Regions from separate parts of the Homo sapiens genome. Here all the other regions are linked to region 1. The links are contacts of gene promoters, found by promoter capture Hi-C in blood cells and fetal thymus (Javierre and others, 2016). All regions are on one chromosome and are shown on one strand. The core of a region is centred on a gene start or on the middle of the fragment in contact, and the rest is flanking DNA. Distances in the headings are between cores, read along the strand shown.

What was found. Contacts are between HindIII fragments. The CHiCAGO score rates a contact against its expected background, and 5 or more counts as called.
Region 2: a contact is called between a fragment that was not itself captured here and the fragment with the promoter of TXNDC15 in region 1, in 6 of 17 cell types (total CD8 T cells, fetal thymus, activated CD4 T cells and 3 more). The highest score is 9.0, in total CD8 T cells.
Region 3: a contact is called between a fragment that was not itself captured here and the fragment with the promoter of TXNDC15 in region 1, in 4 of 17 cell types (activated CD4 T cells, naive CD8 T cells, naive CD4 T cells and 1 more). The highest score is 6.6, in activated CD4 T cells.
Region 4: a fragment that was not itself captured here is called in contact with the fragment with the promoter of TXNDC15 in region 1 in 1 of 17 cell types (fetal thymus); the score reaches 5.0 in fetal thymus.

What each region holds. Positions count from the first base shown.
Region 1 is chr5:134,872,659-134,876,414 of GRCh38, forward strand. It overlaps TXNDC15 (thioredoxin domain containing 15), which reads left to right and starts at 1,713. Exons shown (of 5, transcript NM_024715.4): 1 at 1,713-1,872. The coding sequence starts at 1,770. LOC124901071 (a long non-coding RNA gene) reads right to left here and starts at 2,740. Exons shown (of 2, transcript XR_007058943.1): 1 at 2,586-2,740; 2 at 2,173-2,474. RefSeq lists enhancers at 1,389-1,438, 1,459-1,748, 1,680-2,385, 2,279-2,348 and a silencer at 1,989-2,098. The HindIII fragment of the contact is 3,704 bases long and covers 833-3,756 here.
Region 2 is chr5:133,967,586-133,971,341 of GRCh38, forward strand. It overlaps C5orf15 (chromosome 5 open reading frame 15), which reads right to left and starts at 1,040. Exons shown (of 3, transcript NM_020199.3): 1 at 861-1,040. The coding sequence starts at 999. LOC105379183 (a long non-coding RNA gene) reads left to right here and starts at 1,104. Exons shown (of 2, transcript NR_134247.1): 1 at 1,104-1,207; 2 at 2,166-2,638. RefSeq lists enhancers at 234-333, 964-1,183. The HindIII fragment of the contact is 344 bases long and covers 1,981-2,324 here.
Region 3 is chr5:134,157,829-134,161,584 of GRCh38, forward strand. SKP1 (S-phase kinase associated protein 1) reads right to left here. Exons shown (of 6, transcript NM_170679.3): 4 at 3,159-3,302; 5 at 627-767. Among named protein-coding and RNA genes, the nearest start is that of SKP1, 17 kb to the right of the region's middle. The HindIII fragment of the contact is 1,679 bases long and covers 1,270-2,948 here.
Region 4 is chr5:134,211,861-134,215,616 of GRCh38, forward strand. The region is part of intron 1 of PPP2CA (protein phosphatase 2 catalytic subunit alpha); the gene reads right to left. Among named protein-coding and RNA genes, the nearest start is that of MIR3661, 12 kb to the right of the region's middle. The HindIII fragment of the contact is 1,249 bases long and covers 1,074-2,322 here.

The DNA.
Region 1 (3,756 bases), core at 463-2,962:
AAAAAATAAAAAAATCAAACAAACACACATACAGGAAAGGAAAGGAGATAATAAAAAGGAAGGAGTAGTAACCACAGGGCATCCATGTTGGAGTATCCAGATCAGCTTCCTTTTCATTAGTCATAAATCCTTTTGGTGCTCTGTCCTGTTGGCTTTTCATGCACCTTCAAATCATGTATGGGGGTATGAGAAAGATAGTTTAAAAAGGAAAGGTTTGTTGTTCCACTGTTAGGGGTGAGGGAGGTACTTAGCGAAATGATGACTAGTAATAAGCTCTAGAACTGTGGGCTCTTTTATCCATGTCCATTGTTTCATATTCTTCTGGACCCACAAGATGGCACTTGAGGATCTACAACAGCAAAACCATACCAACGTATTTAGAATAAAAGAATCATCCACAGGGACAGATTAATGATGCATCTTTCTGGCCTAACAGTGTCTTTTTGATGGGCATAGAGATAAGGGGACTATGGCCACACCATCAGAATTGTATTATTCAATTAATAATGCCTACCACTTTGAAATGCTTCCTGTGCCCCAGGACACTGTGCTCATCACTTTACATCTCATTTCATCTATAAGACTCTATATAACGTCATTTCCACTTTACAGCTGAAGAAACTTAACTTTAAGTTACATAACCTGCTGACTGTGAACTATCACATGTGCTGAAGTTGGGATTCACCAAGCGGCCAAAAAGCACAGGTTCCCCTTACCATTGCTATGTTAACCAATAGACTGATGTATTTTAAATCAGTTTCTATTTTTTCAACCTCATAAGTTTGAAAAGCTGCACTCTGCACTGATTTAGCACTGACTGGTGGCTGCTTAAAGCTTGCCTTATTCCATTTTAGCAGGCCCCCCGGCAAAATACCCCAATTAGTGGTGTCATCCTCTCTATTCCAAGAATTTTCTCTTAAGACTCCCGCTCTGTGCGTTTGCTTGGGAATGCAGAGCCCTGTTCCTCATCTCCCCATCTATGCTTTCTTCATTCTAAGCCCTTTCCTATCTACTTTATGCTCGAGGTGGCTCCACCTCCACCATGAGCCAGAGCCAATGATGCTCACGGCCCCAACCATGATTAAAAAGAGATTGCCCTGCAAGGTAAATCAGTTAAAACCAACCTCTCCTGCCCTGAGTGGATAGGTAGGGTTAGGGTTGCCAGATGTCACGAAGTTACAGGATGCTCAGTTTTAAGGTATATCCCTTATACTATAAGGGTTATAGTAAAAAATATTCATTATGTGAAATTCAAATATAACTGGGTATCAGGTATTCTATGTGGCAACCCTAGGTAGGGGAGCACAGGTTAGGCAAGCGATTAGAAGATTTGCAGCCTCCAAAGTTTCTGCACCTCGATGGGACACTAGAACAGGAAGGCTCCTGGGCCTTTCTGGCTCTGGGAATGAAGCGTGGAAAACCCTCCTTAGGCGGGCGCAGTGCTTCAAGTAGCCAAGCTCTGACTTCCGAGGGAAGAAAGGAGGCCATGGGCCTCTGCCAGAGCCATGCTCTGCACTCTGGGGTCAGCAGAGTTCAAAACGACCTGCAACGTCTGGCGCTTAGCTCCTAAAGAGGTCTCCAGTCCAGCGCCGACGGCCAGCGGCTAGAGGCCGTCCGCCCGACTCCAAGATGGCGCCCGCCACAGCTGCCAGGTGTTAAGATGGCGGCGCGGGGCCGCGCCCGCGCTCCCAGGCTCTCCTCCCCCAGCCTTCCTCCGGCTGGCAGCACGACTCGCGTAGCCGTGCGCCGATTGCCTCTCGGCCTGGGCAATGGTCCCGGCTGCCGGTCGACGACCGCCCCGCGTCATGCGGCTCCTCGGCTGGTGGCAAGTATTGCTGTGGGTGCTGGGACTTCCCGTCCGCGGCGTGGAGGGTGAGTGTGGGCCGGGGGCGGTGCATGAGATGATGGGGCGAGCTGAGGTCCACCCGGGCGACGCTCTGGACCTGCGCGAAGGCCGGCGGTGCGCGACTCGCCCCTTCTTGGCGTCTCCCCGGGCGCGTCTCCCCGACTTCTCTCCCCGCGCACCGCCCGCTGGTGGCCCGCGAAAGGGGGCCGGTGGGCTGAGGGCCGGTGGACGGGAGCCCGGGGGTGGTTGGGCCGCGTTCAGGCCGCCCTCAGCCCGTGGCTGGTAGCCAGGAGGGACAGTGCGGTAAGCGCTGCTGAGGCATACCCTCTGGTGATAAGCAATTTATTATTAATAACATTATATCAAATACCGACATTGTTGTGGCCGTATTAGGAGCCAGGAACTGTGCATCGTGCTTTATTTACATCATTATCCCATTTAATGCTCCCACAAACCCTGTCAGATCGGTTCCGTTTAGTGTCTCCATTTCACAGATGAAGATGCTCAGGCCCCGCCTAAGTTTGCGCTTCTGATACGTGGCAGAAGCCTGTCTCTCTGACGCCAAAGCCCAGTCTGGAGTCCACGCTGCTGGACCACTGTCTTAAGGAGGCCAGTCTTGCTCAGCTCCCTGCATGAAAAACAGACGAGAAACACGGGAGACTCCCGGTAACCCCCAACTTGCCGGTAGGGAAGGCAGCCACTCTAGAGGCATGGCGAGGGTGGAGAGTGGAGGCCTTACTTTCATGCTCCTTCACCCCACTCCTCATAGTCCTGTTAAAGTCCAGACCCTCGGTCTCGCTTGTCATTTAGACCTTAACAGGAATAGGCAGGTCTTTCTTTTCCCTGGGGTGTCCTGGATGGAGGCAGGACAGCAGAGAGTTGTGGAGAAGGGTGAGTCATAGTAACACAATTACCATGAATGAAAGCGCTCACTGTGTACCAGATGCTGTGCTCAGTGCTTTACGAGCATCATCTTTTGGAATCTTTACTGTTTTGTTTTTGTTTTTTTAAGGGATGAGGGCTTGCTCTGTTGCCCAGGCGGGAGTGCAGTGGCCCATCATGGCTCCCTGCAGCCTTGAACTCCTGGGCTTAAGTGATCCTCCCACCTGTTTCCCAAAGTGCTGGGATTACAGATGTGAGCCACTGCTCCCGGTTTATGTAATTTTTATTTTTATTTTTTTTTGAGATGGAGTCTCGCTCTGTTGCCCAGGCTGGAGTGCAGTGGCGCGATCTTGGCTCACTGCAACCTCTGACTCCCGGGTTCAAGCGATTCTCGTGCCTCAGCCTCCTGAGTAGCTGGGATTACAGGTGCCTGCCACCACACTGGGCTAATTTTTGTATTTTTAGTAGAGATGATGGTCCACCATGTTGGCCACGCTGGTCTGGAACTCCTGACCTCAGGTGATCCACCCACCTCGGCCTCCCAGAGTGCTGGGATTACAGGCTTGAGCCACCGTGCCTGGCCTTAGTAATTTTTAAATGCATATGCAGTAGATGTTATCATGCTCATTTTATAGAAGTAACTTAAGACTCAGAGCCAATAAGTCCTTTGACAAGGTCATACAGCCAGAAGTTGAGGAGCCTTGATTCAAGCCCATGTCTGCCTGACTTCAGAGCCCAACCTCTGCATTTTCACTATACTTAACTGCTAGCCTCACAGAGGGGATGGCATGGGTTGGATATCTTCTGTTTCAGCCCCTCCACCGTGCTCTGTGCCCTGTGTGGCTGTCCTGTGTGGAATAAATACCAGCTGTCCTACCGTCTTGCTTCCATTGTGTTGGAATGAGGGGAGAGTGAGGTCAGGGTATTGATTCTCTCCGCTCCCTCCCTGAGAAGTTATTGAAGGCTGGCTTTGCCCCCGGTGGAAAGCATTGAATTCTAGAAAGCTGCCCTCTGTGTTACCCTTGATG
Region 2 (3,756 bases), core at 903-3,402, 900 kb before region 1:
AATCTCTTGATTTCACCATGCAACATTTGCAAGAAATGAAATATTTTATCAATCAAATCCTACAGATGCATTAAAACGAGGCAGGGTTATCCTGGTTAACTCGGAACACAGGGAAGAGGAATCATGATCTCCCTTGTCTCCAAACTCCTCTCTGCCTCCCAAGCCTTCAGGGGCCCAACGCCCCAGTACTCTGAATCTTTATCAAACACCAGAACCTCCCAGTCTTCAAATATGCACCAGTACCCTAAGACAGCTCTTTCCCTTTCACTTTCCCTCTCGGAAATATTCCATTGGTTCAGTCCAGTCACTGGATTACTGCCCCTGCCCGCCTCGGTCTTTACCACTGACCTCTCCCATTCTGGAAAACCCCCACCTTTCCTTGGTCCTGCAAGATTCCTGAGTCCCCCAAACTCAGGACCCTTTCCAGACACCACACCCCCAGCCCCGGCCACCTCCTCAGCCCCTGTCGCCACCCTCTCTTCCAGAGTCTCCTAACTTTCCGATCCAAGAAATTTTGGAGACCCCACCACCGCCATTCCTTGCGGCAGCCCATTCTTCAACGATCTCTAGGCGCTAACACCACTCCTCCCTCCCCGCCCATCTACACACCCTGCTGCCTGCTCCCTGGGTTCCTGCATCTCTCAGGGACCCCGCTTCTCAGGCCCCTTGGAGACCCTACCACCTTGGACCCCTTCAGACACCATACCCTCCGTCCTCAGGCCCGCGGAGACCCTGACCCAACCAGACACCGCCGTCTGCTCCTGACACTTGGAAGCGCCCTTTCCCTGGCCCGGCCTGTCTCCTGCCCTGCGCCCGAGCCCTCCTAGCCTTCCTAAGCCCACACTGCCGCCCCCCTTTACCACTGGATAGAGCGGCGGACACAAGCAGGAGCGCCAAGACCAGCGGCCGCGCCAACCCCACAAGGGCTTGGATGGCCGACCCGGGCAGCAGTTTCGCTTGTGCTGGCCCCCTCATCCTCTTCGGGACGGCAGCGGCCATAACGGACTCGGCTGGGAGCCTGCGCTGTTGCTAGGCTCTACGCCATGAGGTCAGACGCCGCGGCCCTCGGCACATACGTCCCAGCGTGGTGACGTCGAAGCCTGGAGACGTGCTCTGGAAACCGGAATAAGAAGGAAGGATTGCAGGGAGGAGGGAGTTGCCGCTAGGCGAAAGTGGGGACCGCCACACAGTTGGCTGCGGATTAAAGGTAGGGTGTGACGTGCTGAAGAGGGCCAAAGCGAGCCCCTCCCTGCCGCCTGCATGATTGGGTACTATACAGCCAAAAATAGCGTTTTTAGCCATTTTAAAAAGGAAGATCCAGCTGTAGAACAGACTGATCACGAAAGCGAAGTAACTGCTCTTCCTCTCTCAAAGGCGAAAGAAACACAAATGTTAAGTAGTCCTATTTCGGTGATGGGATTATAAGTAATTTTTAAAAATCTTTCCCGACAGTCATTTATTTTTTTTCAACAAAGATTTAGCACCTCTCCCTATTTAAGATACAGCAGTGAACAAAAAGAACCCCCCACCCCCCCGCCCGCCTTGGCAGTTTATTTTCTTGTGAGGGCGAATATGGTGTAAAATACACACTATACAAGATGATAAAGATATTATGGACCGGCCCTAGTGCAGTGGCTCCCAGCACTTTGGGAGGCCGAGGAGGGCAGATCACCTGAGGTCCGGAGTTGGAGACCAGCCTGGCCAACATGGAGAAACCCCGACTCTACTAAAAATACAAAAATTAGCCAGGCGTGGTGGCGCGTGCCTGTAATCGCAGCTACTCGGGAGGCTGAGGTAGGAGAATCGCTGTAACCCGGGAGGTGGAGGCTGCAGGGAGCCGAGATGCCACTGCACTCTAGCCTGGGCCACAGACTCCGTCTCAAAAAAAAAAAAAAAATTATGGAGGAAAAGAAAGGAAGGTAGCTAGGAAGTAGAGGTGAGGGGCTGCCATTGAAAATAACTTTCAGATTTCCTAAAATAAGCTTCTCTTTTTAAATTTTGTTACTTGAAATCCCCAGTGTATAAAAATGCAAACTTACAAACTTCCAAGAAGTTCACCTAGGGCCCTGGCGCCATACTTTGCTCTGTGTGTACGTTCTGTAAATGTCTCCTTAATAAACAGATACAGGCTTCAATTCATAAAAGTTCCATTTGATCAATTTCAGGAAAATCAATGTGACGTTAAGCAAGACATTTATTGTGCCCACAGCTTCACCATTCTGGTCTCTATGATTCCCTGCGAAGATTGCTGTTATCCCCCAGAGACACAGCTGAGCTGTCTCTCTAAAGGGCCTGTGTTCTACTCCTGAATCTGGTTTCCCCTAAGCTTTTATCTCACCCTGGTGACAGCTCAGAAACACACAAACTCTGTGTTAAGAAAACTAAGAAGTCATTCATCTGCACATTTCCCGAAATCCCCCAGAAGCCCGTATTAGACTGAATGGTGTCCTTATTGCAAACTCTCCACTTTAGCCAAGGTGCAAAGTCCTCCCAGTCCCCCAGGAGCTTCCCTTCTCTGAGCGGTACTTAAGTTTTCTGTAAAACCACTCAGTTCAACAAATGAGCTTCTCAATCTTAGTTTCTGCTTGTTGACTTTAAAGTTAATCTATAATAAACACACTGCAGTCCTCTTCCCTGACTCATTGTCCACTTTGTCCATTTGTGTCCTCATACCAGATTGTCTCAATTCTCTTAACTGGTGAGATATTATGAACTCAAAGCATTTTGCACAATGATATTCCAACATGCTGCATGCAACAAGCAGACAATAAGTAACTAGTGAGGGAAATATTCCCTCATACTCAAGAGAACCCTTTATACATTTTTAAATATTTTAGGGCCAGGCTTATGCCTGTAATCCCAAGTACTCGGGAGGCTGAGATGGGAGGATCACAGGAGCCCAGGAGTTCAAGGCTGCAGTGAGCTATGATGATGACAGTGCACTTCAGTCTGGGTGACAGAGTAAGACTGTCTCTAAAAGTAAAATATCTTAATACTGTACCTGACATCTGACTAGATGTACCCAGCAACCACTATGTGCCATAATCTCTGGATAAATTCTATGAACATTCACTTAGAAATAGCTGCAAGTCCCTGAAGACAGTATGACAAATACTGAGGCCCACAGTTTTTGGGTGATCAGTTGCATAAAATGCTAAAATAGATGGTTCCTGTTTTGAATGTCACTTTCAAACATAGAAAAAAAAGGAATTCTGCTGAAAAATCATGAATGGAAAAAAATGTTCATATTTGTTGAAGCTGGATCATGCATAGAGTTTATTACTATTTGTGTTTCCACAATAGGCTGGATGTGGTGGCTCACGCCTGTAATCCCAGCACTTTTGGAGGCCAAGGTGAGCAGATCACCTGAGGTCAGGAGTTTGAGACCAGCCTGACCAACATGGAGAAACCCCATCTCTACTAAAAATACAAAATTAGCCGGGTGTGGTGGCAAATGTTTGTAATCCTAGCTACTCGGGAGGCTGAGGCAGGAGAATTGCTTGAACCCAGGAGGCGGGGAGGCTGAGGCAGGAGAATTGCTTGAACCCAGGAGGCGGAGCTTGCAGTGAGCAGACATTGTGCGCCATTGCATTCCAGCCTGGGCAACAAGAATGAAACTCCGCCTCAAAAAAAAAAAAATCCACCATCAAGTTATTAAAAACATATAAATATATGGGAGAATTCCAAAATCACCCCTTCCCATGACCCATATGGAGGGACCTACAAACATGAAAGGATATTACCAGTGATTAGGTT
Region 3 (3,756 bases), core at 859-3,358, 710 kb before region 1:
ATACTACCTACTGATTCATCGATAGCCAGTGAGTTGAGTCAGAAGAACAGATGGAAAATTAGAACAACACCAGGTTAAGACTATATTTCCGGATTTCCTTTCTTTGCCTCCCATGGTTTTTATTCTGCCCTGCTGAAATTATGAACAAAGCAAAGGCAATGGGCAATTTACTAAAGTTGACAGAGCAAATTCAGTTAATTCATTCACATTATTTCAGTCTGTAGTCATGTCAACAAAATCATTCTGATCTATTCTTTCATTTCCTCCCCTCATTAAGTTGCTCTAAAGTACCCTAGTATATACTTCTCTCTAGGGCCTGCTTTTCTGATGTCAGATATGTATGGTCTATACAGAAAGTTGCAGGTGCCAAAACTAGTAACTGTTAATACATTAACAAGAGCTCTTCTCATTGAAAACTAATTGTTCTTATGCTTAAAATGCAGTATCATCTAAGTGTTCAGATTCATAAAGACAGAACAGTAAGAGTATGTTTAAGACACATTAAGTACATATTATCCCTAAAGTATCAAGACTACTTGATACAGTCACCTCTTTTGCTGGCATGTTATAGGTGTTACTCCCTTTTTAAGAGCATGTGATCAAAGACAAAACTGTGTGCTACCTACCTGGGCTTCCTCCTCTTCAGTAAAGTCATTTTTGATATTGAAGGTCTTGCGAATCTCCTCAGGAGTTTTCCCCTTGATCATATTGGCAACAGTCTTGCATGTAACATCAAGCAAACCTTTGATGTCTAAGTAGTTTGCAGCCTGTAAAGAGACAGTTGTTTTCCTTAAAGTATACTTGATGTTTTAAACTAAATCCAAAGTTAATGATTGACACTCCGTATCTAATAAAGCTTAAAATGCTAATTTTAAGAAATTAAAGGGAGAAGAATAAATCACTCCTAAGTTCTTCTGTGAAAGACTTTTATGTGACCTTCTTTGTTATACCTCTATAATGTTGAATCCTTCTGCTTCCTTAACCAAACTATACTAGCTCAAATGTGAAATAACGGCCACTACTGTTGTGTATGTGTGTACACATGCACACAAATACCACATCAGGTCTTGGCAAAAATATTTGTCCACACTTAAAGAGTTCAAACGTAAGCAGTTATAGCACTATATTGATCTCATTTTAAAAAACAGGTTTTGGTTTCATTGACTTTATTGTTTACCTGTTTTCTATTTCATTGATTTCTGCCCTTTAATATTCTCATTCTTCTGTTTACTTTGTAGTTAATTTCATCTTTTACTAGTTTAAGGTGGAAGCTTAGATCACCGATTTGAAACTTTTCTTCTTTTCTAATAATATAGGTATTTCATTCCATCAATTTCCCTCTAAGTACTTCTTTAGCTGCATCTCACCGATTTTTCATGTGTTTTACTTCCACTCAGCTCAAAATACTTTCTATTTCTTCTCTGACCCATAGGTTACTTGCAAATGTGTTAGTTTAAAAGTAGTTGCAGATTTTTCCAGATACCTTTCTGTTTGTGATTTCTAATTCCATTGCAGTCAGAAGACATACTTTGTATGACCTGAATCCTTTTACAATGGAGACTTTTTTTTTAAGACACCGTCTCACTCTGTCACCCAGGCTGGAATTCAGTGGCGTGATCTCGGCTCACTGCAATCTCTACCTCCTAGGTTCAGCCAATTCTCTTGCTTCAGTCTCCCAAGTAGCTGGGATTACAGGTGGGTGCCATCTCACCCAGCTAATTTTTTTTTTTTTTTTTTGAGACGAAGTCTCGCTCTGTCACCCAGGCTGGAGGGCAGTGGTGCGATATCGGCTCACTGCAAGCTCCACCTCCCGGGTTCATGCCATTCTCCTGCCTCGGCCTCCCGAGTAGCTGAGACTACAGGTTCCTGCCACCCCACCCGGCTAATTTTCTATATTTTCAGTAGAGACGGGGTTTCACCATGTTAGCCAGGATGGTCTCGATTTCCTGACCTCGTGATCCGCCCACCTTGGCCTCCCAAAGTGCTGGGATTATAGGCGTGAGCCACCGCGCCCGGCCTAATTTTCGTATTTTTAGTAGAGATGGGGTTTCATCATGCTGGCCAGGCTGGTCTTGAACTCCTAGCCTCAAGTGATCCACCCGCCTCACCCTCCCAAAGTGTTGGGATCACAGGCGTGAGCCACCGCACCCAGCTGAGACTTGTTTTATGGCCCAGAACATGGTCTATTTGGTAATATACACTTGAAAAGAATATGTATTCTGCTATCATTACATATAATGTTTTAGGCCAGGCGCGGTGGCTCACACCTGTAATCCCAACACTTTGGGAGGCCTAGGTAGGTGGATCACCTGAGGTCAGGAGTTCAAGACCATCCTGGCCAACATGGTGAAACCCCATCTCTACTAAAAATACAAAAACTTAGCTGAGCATGGTGGCTCATGCCTGTAATCTCAGCTACTCAGGAGGCTGAGGCAGGAGAATTGCTTGAACCTGGGAGGTGGAGGTTGCAGTGAGCCAAAATCATGCCACTGCACCACAGCCTGTGTGACAAGAGTGAAACTCTGTCTCAAAAATATATATATATATAATATTTTATAAATATCCATTAAGACAATTTGGTCAATAGTGTTATATCAAGTTATCCTGATTTCTGTCTAGTTATATTAATTGAGAGAGGTGCTGAAATCTCTATGATTGTCACTTTGTGGACTTCTTTGAGTTCTATTGGGTTTTGTTTCACTTCTTGGAAGTTCTGCTTCTAGCCAGATAAAAATTTATAATTGTTATGTCTTTTTAAAAAACTGATCCCCTTATCAGTATGAAATAATCCTCTTTAACCCTGGTAATATTCTTTGCCTCCAAACCTATTTTAATATAGTCACTCCAGCTTTCTTTTGATTCGTGTTAGTGTACCGTATCTTCTTCCATTCTTTAAACCTAGTTCTGTCTATATATTTAAAGCGGGTTTCTTACAGACAGCACAGCTAAGCTTGCTTTTCTGATCTGGTAATTTCTGCCTTTTAACTGTGTTTAGACCATTTACATTTAGTGTGTTACTGATATGTGGATTTAAATATGGCGTTACATTTGAATTTAGAGAGTATTAAAATTCAGTGTCAATGAAGTTAGCAAATTTAAATCTATAAGAAGTGTTTAAAGGCTCTAGAGTAGAGCTATCTTACACATTAAAAACTTACCAGAATGAGTTCAAAAAGTGTTCCTTGGTCAACTTTCAGGAATTCTTGGTCCCAAACAGGGATATCATCTGTTCGCTTTTCTTTGTTCTCATCATCTTCAGGAGGAGGAGGGTCATCCTTGTGGTGGGTGCACCACTGAATGACCTACAACAACAAAAGTTCATTCCTCTGTGGCACTTTGTCACAAGGTACTCATTCCACTGCTGGGACAACTTATCCCTATATTGGAATAATAACTAGCTAGAGGTTGACTTGAGCCATTAACAGCCAAGCTTGAAAAACAAAAATGAAGCTTGAAGAATCATTATAACCCTAGAAGGGAGAAGATCTTATTAGATAAAAGCAAGCCATGCAGACAGAGTACTGTACTTGACTACATTAAAAAGCTTCTATGCAAAAAGAAAAGTTAGGACAATGACTGGAAGATACCTGCAATATGTACAACAATGATTAGCTGAGAGAATATAAAATCTTTCAAAAATCATTAAAGAGAAATGGGTTAATATGTACAGCCAATAAATGAAATCTGAATAGCCAAACATAAGGAACGCTCAACTTTACTAGAAGCAAAACTAACACTACAGATACTTCTCTAGAT
Region 4 (3,756 bases), core at 448-2,947, 660 kb before region 1:
TAATCCTAGCACTATGGGATGCCAAGGCGGATGAATCACTTGAGGTCGGGAGTTCGAAACCAGCCTGGCCAACATGGTGAAACCCCATCTGTACTAAAAATACAAAAAAATTAGCCAGGCGTGGTGGCAGGCACCTGTAATCCCAGCTACTTGGGAGGCTGAGGTAGGAGAATCACTTGAACCTGGGAGGCGAGGTTGCAGTGAGCGGAGACCGCACCACTGCACTCCAGCCTGGGTGACAGTGAGACTCCATCTCAAAAATAGTAATTTCCTTAAGAGCACACAATAACTACAGGCATGCCTCATTTTACTGTGCTTCTCTTTATTGCACTTTGCATATGTTGCATTTTTTTAATCAATCAAAGCTTCATGGCAACCCTGTGTGGAGCAAGTTTATCAGCACCATTTTCCCACCAGCATGTGCTCACTTCTTGTCTTTGTCACATCTTGGTACTTCTAAAATTATTTCAAACTTTTTCATTACTATTGTATCTGTTATGGTGATATGTGATCAGTGATCTTTGATGTTACTATTGTAATTGCTGTGGGGCACTACCAACCGTGCCCATAAGACAATGAACTTAATAAATGTCGTATATATTCTTACTGCTGCTGACTGGCCATTCTGTCTCTCCCTCTCCTTGGGCCTCCCTATCCCCTGAGACACAATATTGAAATTAGGCCAATTAATAACCCTACAATGGCCTCCAAATGCTCAAGTGAAAGGAAGAGTTGCATATCTCTCACTTTAAATGAAAAGTTAGAAATTATTAAACTTAGGAGAGGGCATATGGAAACTCCAGACAGGCCTAAAGGTAGGCTTCTTGCACCAAACTGCTAAGGTATAAATGCAAAGGAAAAGTTCTTTAAGGAAATTAGAAATGCTACTTCAGTGAACACACAAATAGTAAGTAAGCCAAACAGTCTTATTGCAGATACGGACAAAGTTTTAGTGGTCTGGATAGATCAAATCAGCCACAACATTCGCTTAAAAGCCAAAGCCTAATTCAGAGGTAGGTCCTAATTCTTCAATTCTATAAAGGCTAATAGAGGTGAGGAAGCTGCAGAAGTTAAGCTTAAAGCTAGCAGACTGGTTCATGAGATTTAAGAACCCATTTCCATAACATAAAAGGGCAAGATAAGGCATCAAGTACCAATATAAAAACTACAACAAGTTTCCCAGACGATCTACCTAAGATAAGTGATGAAGGTGGTTGCACTAAACAACAGGTTTTCAATGTAGACGAAATAGCCTTCTAGTGGAAGAAGATGCCACTTAGGACTTTACTAGCTAGAGAAGTCAATGCCTGCCCTCAAACCCTCAACGGACAGGCTGACTCTTGTTAGAGGCTAATGTAGCTGGTGACTTTCAGTTGAAGCCAAGGCTCATTCAACATTCTGAAAGCATTTAAGCCATTCTTTAGCACTTAAGAATTATGCTAAATCTACTACGCCTGTGCTCTAGAAATGGAACAACAAAGCCTGGATGACAGCACATCTGCTTACAGCACGGTATACTGAATATTTTAAGTGCATTACTGAGACCTACTGCTCAGAAAAAAAAAAAAGATTCCTTTCAAAATATTACTGCTCAGCCTGGGCAACACACCAAAACCCCATCTCTACAAAAAAATTAAAATATTAGCTGGGCATAGTGGTACACACCTGTAGTACCAGCTACTTGGAAGGCTGTGGCAGGAGGATTGCTTGAGCTCAGGAGTTCAAGATCAGCCTGGGCAATGTGGCGAGACCCTGTCTCTACGAAAAATAAAAATTAGCTAGGCATGGTGGTGCACTCTGTGGTCCCAGCTGCTAAGGAGGCTAAGGCAGAAGAATCACTTGAGCCCAGGAGTTCAAGGTTCCAGTGAACTATGATGATGTCACTGTACTTCAGCCTGGGCAACAACACCATCTCAAAATAAATAAATAAAAGCACAAAATGATTACAACCATGTCACAATTCTTTGCATTAAAAAAAGGCTGAAAAGCCCAGGCACAGTGGCTCACGCCTGTAATTCTATCACTTTGGGAGCCAAAGCAGGTGGATGACTTTAGGTCAAGAGTTTGGGACCAGCCTGGCCAACACGGTAAAACCCCATCTCTACTAAAAATACAAAAATCAGCCAGGTAAGATGGCACAGGCCTGTAATCCCAGCTACTTGGGAGGCTGTGGCATGAGAATTATTGGAACCCAGGAGGCAGAGGTTGCAGTGAGCTGAGATCGTGCCACTGCACTCCAGCCTATGCAACACAGTAAGACTCTCTCTCAAAACTAACAAAAAAAGGCTAAAAAAAAAATTAAAAGGTTAAGATTTCACTGAAAGCTTTAAGATATATAACTATCTTATTCTTACCAACCAGAACTCTTCTCATTTCTATTACCTTTCAGTTTTTACCCACACAGACCTCTTACTTATAATTGACTGGCATCTCATTTTGTGTCCTAAAGTTTCATACTAACTCGTTTCTACATTATAGTGATTTTTTAAAACTACATAATGCCCTTCTAAATAGACCTATACGTGTACAGTATTATTGCTCATTTGAATTATTTCCTTTCAAAAAGCTTTAATTGTGGGATTACAGGGCAAAATAGCATTAACTTTTTTTGTTTCATATGTACTATAAAACTCAATTATGCCAATTTGTTATACAATAATAAATGAAAGAATATACTCATTCTCAGCTATTTCAGATATACAATGTGGTATCACTAATTTAATTGGCATTTTTCATTTCTGAGTACAAACTTTTTATTCCATGTTTATTTACCATCAGTTATTTCTCCTCTTATACAAGTTGTCCATGAATATTTTTGAACATCTGATCATTAAGAGCTAGATGATGTTCTGAAGTATTTGTATAAACTATTTTAAACTGTTATTTTAAGTAACTTTTTGGCATTTTGTTTCTCTTATTTTTTAAATATATAGCCAGAAATTTTCTATGCCCATTTTTGCTTTGTAATTTTTCTCCTACAATTATTAAGAAAAGTTATCACGTCTTGCCATTTTCTAAGAGTTTTTCATTTTAAAATCTATACTTTAATCCTAAGATTACACGACAACTACTCAAGCTTCTTTTTATATCAGCATCTTAAACTTGCATCGTTAACATTATGACATTAACTTTAAATGTTTAATAATGACCTTGAAGTATTTTGGAATCCTGCATCCAAGAAAAAAAAAATCAATCAATTGGGACCTAGGGCTTGAGAAGTGTCTAATATTTATTTACTTTTTTTTTTTTTTTTTGAGACAAGTTCTTGCTCTGTTCCCCAGGCTTCGAGTGCTGTAGCATGATCACAGCTCATTGCAGTCTAGATCTCCTGGACCCAAGCAATCCTCTTGCCTCAGCCTCACAGAGTAGCTAGAACCACAGGTGTGCCACCACACCCAACTAATTTATTTTTAAAAATTATTCGTAGGGCTGGGTGCAGTGGCTCACGCCTGTAATCCCAGCACTTCGGGAGGCCGAGGCAGGTGGATCACTTGAGGTCAGGAGTTCAAGACCAGCCTGGCCAAAGTGGTGAAACCCCATCTCTACCAAAAAAAAAATACAAAAATATTCTGGGCATGGTAGCCCTCGCCTGTGGTCCCAGCTACTCAGGAGGCTGAGGCAGGAGAATCGCTTGAACCCAGGAGGTGGAGGTTGCAGTGAGCCAAGATCATGCCACTGCACTCCAGCCTGGGTGACAGAGCAAAACTCCATCTCAAAAAATAAAAATAAAAATAAAAATAAAAAAGTAAAAATTTT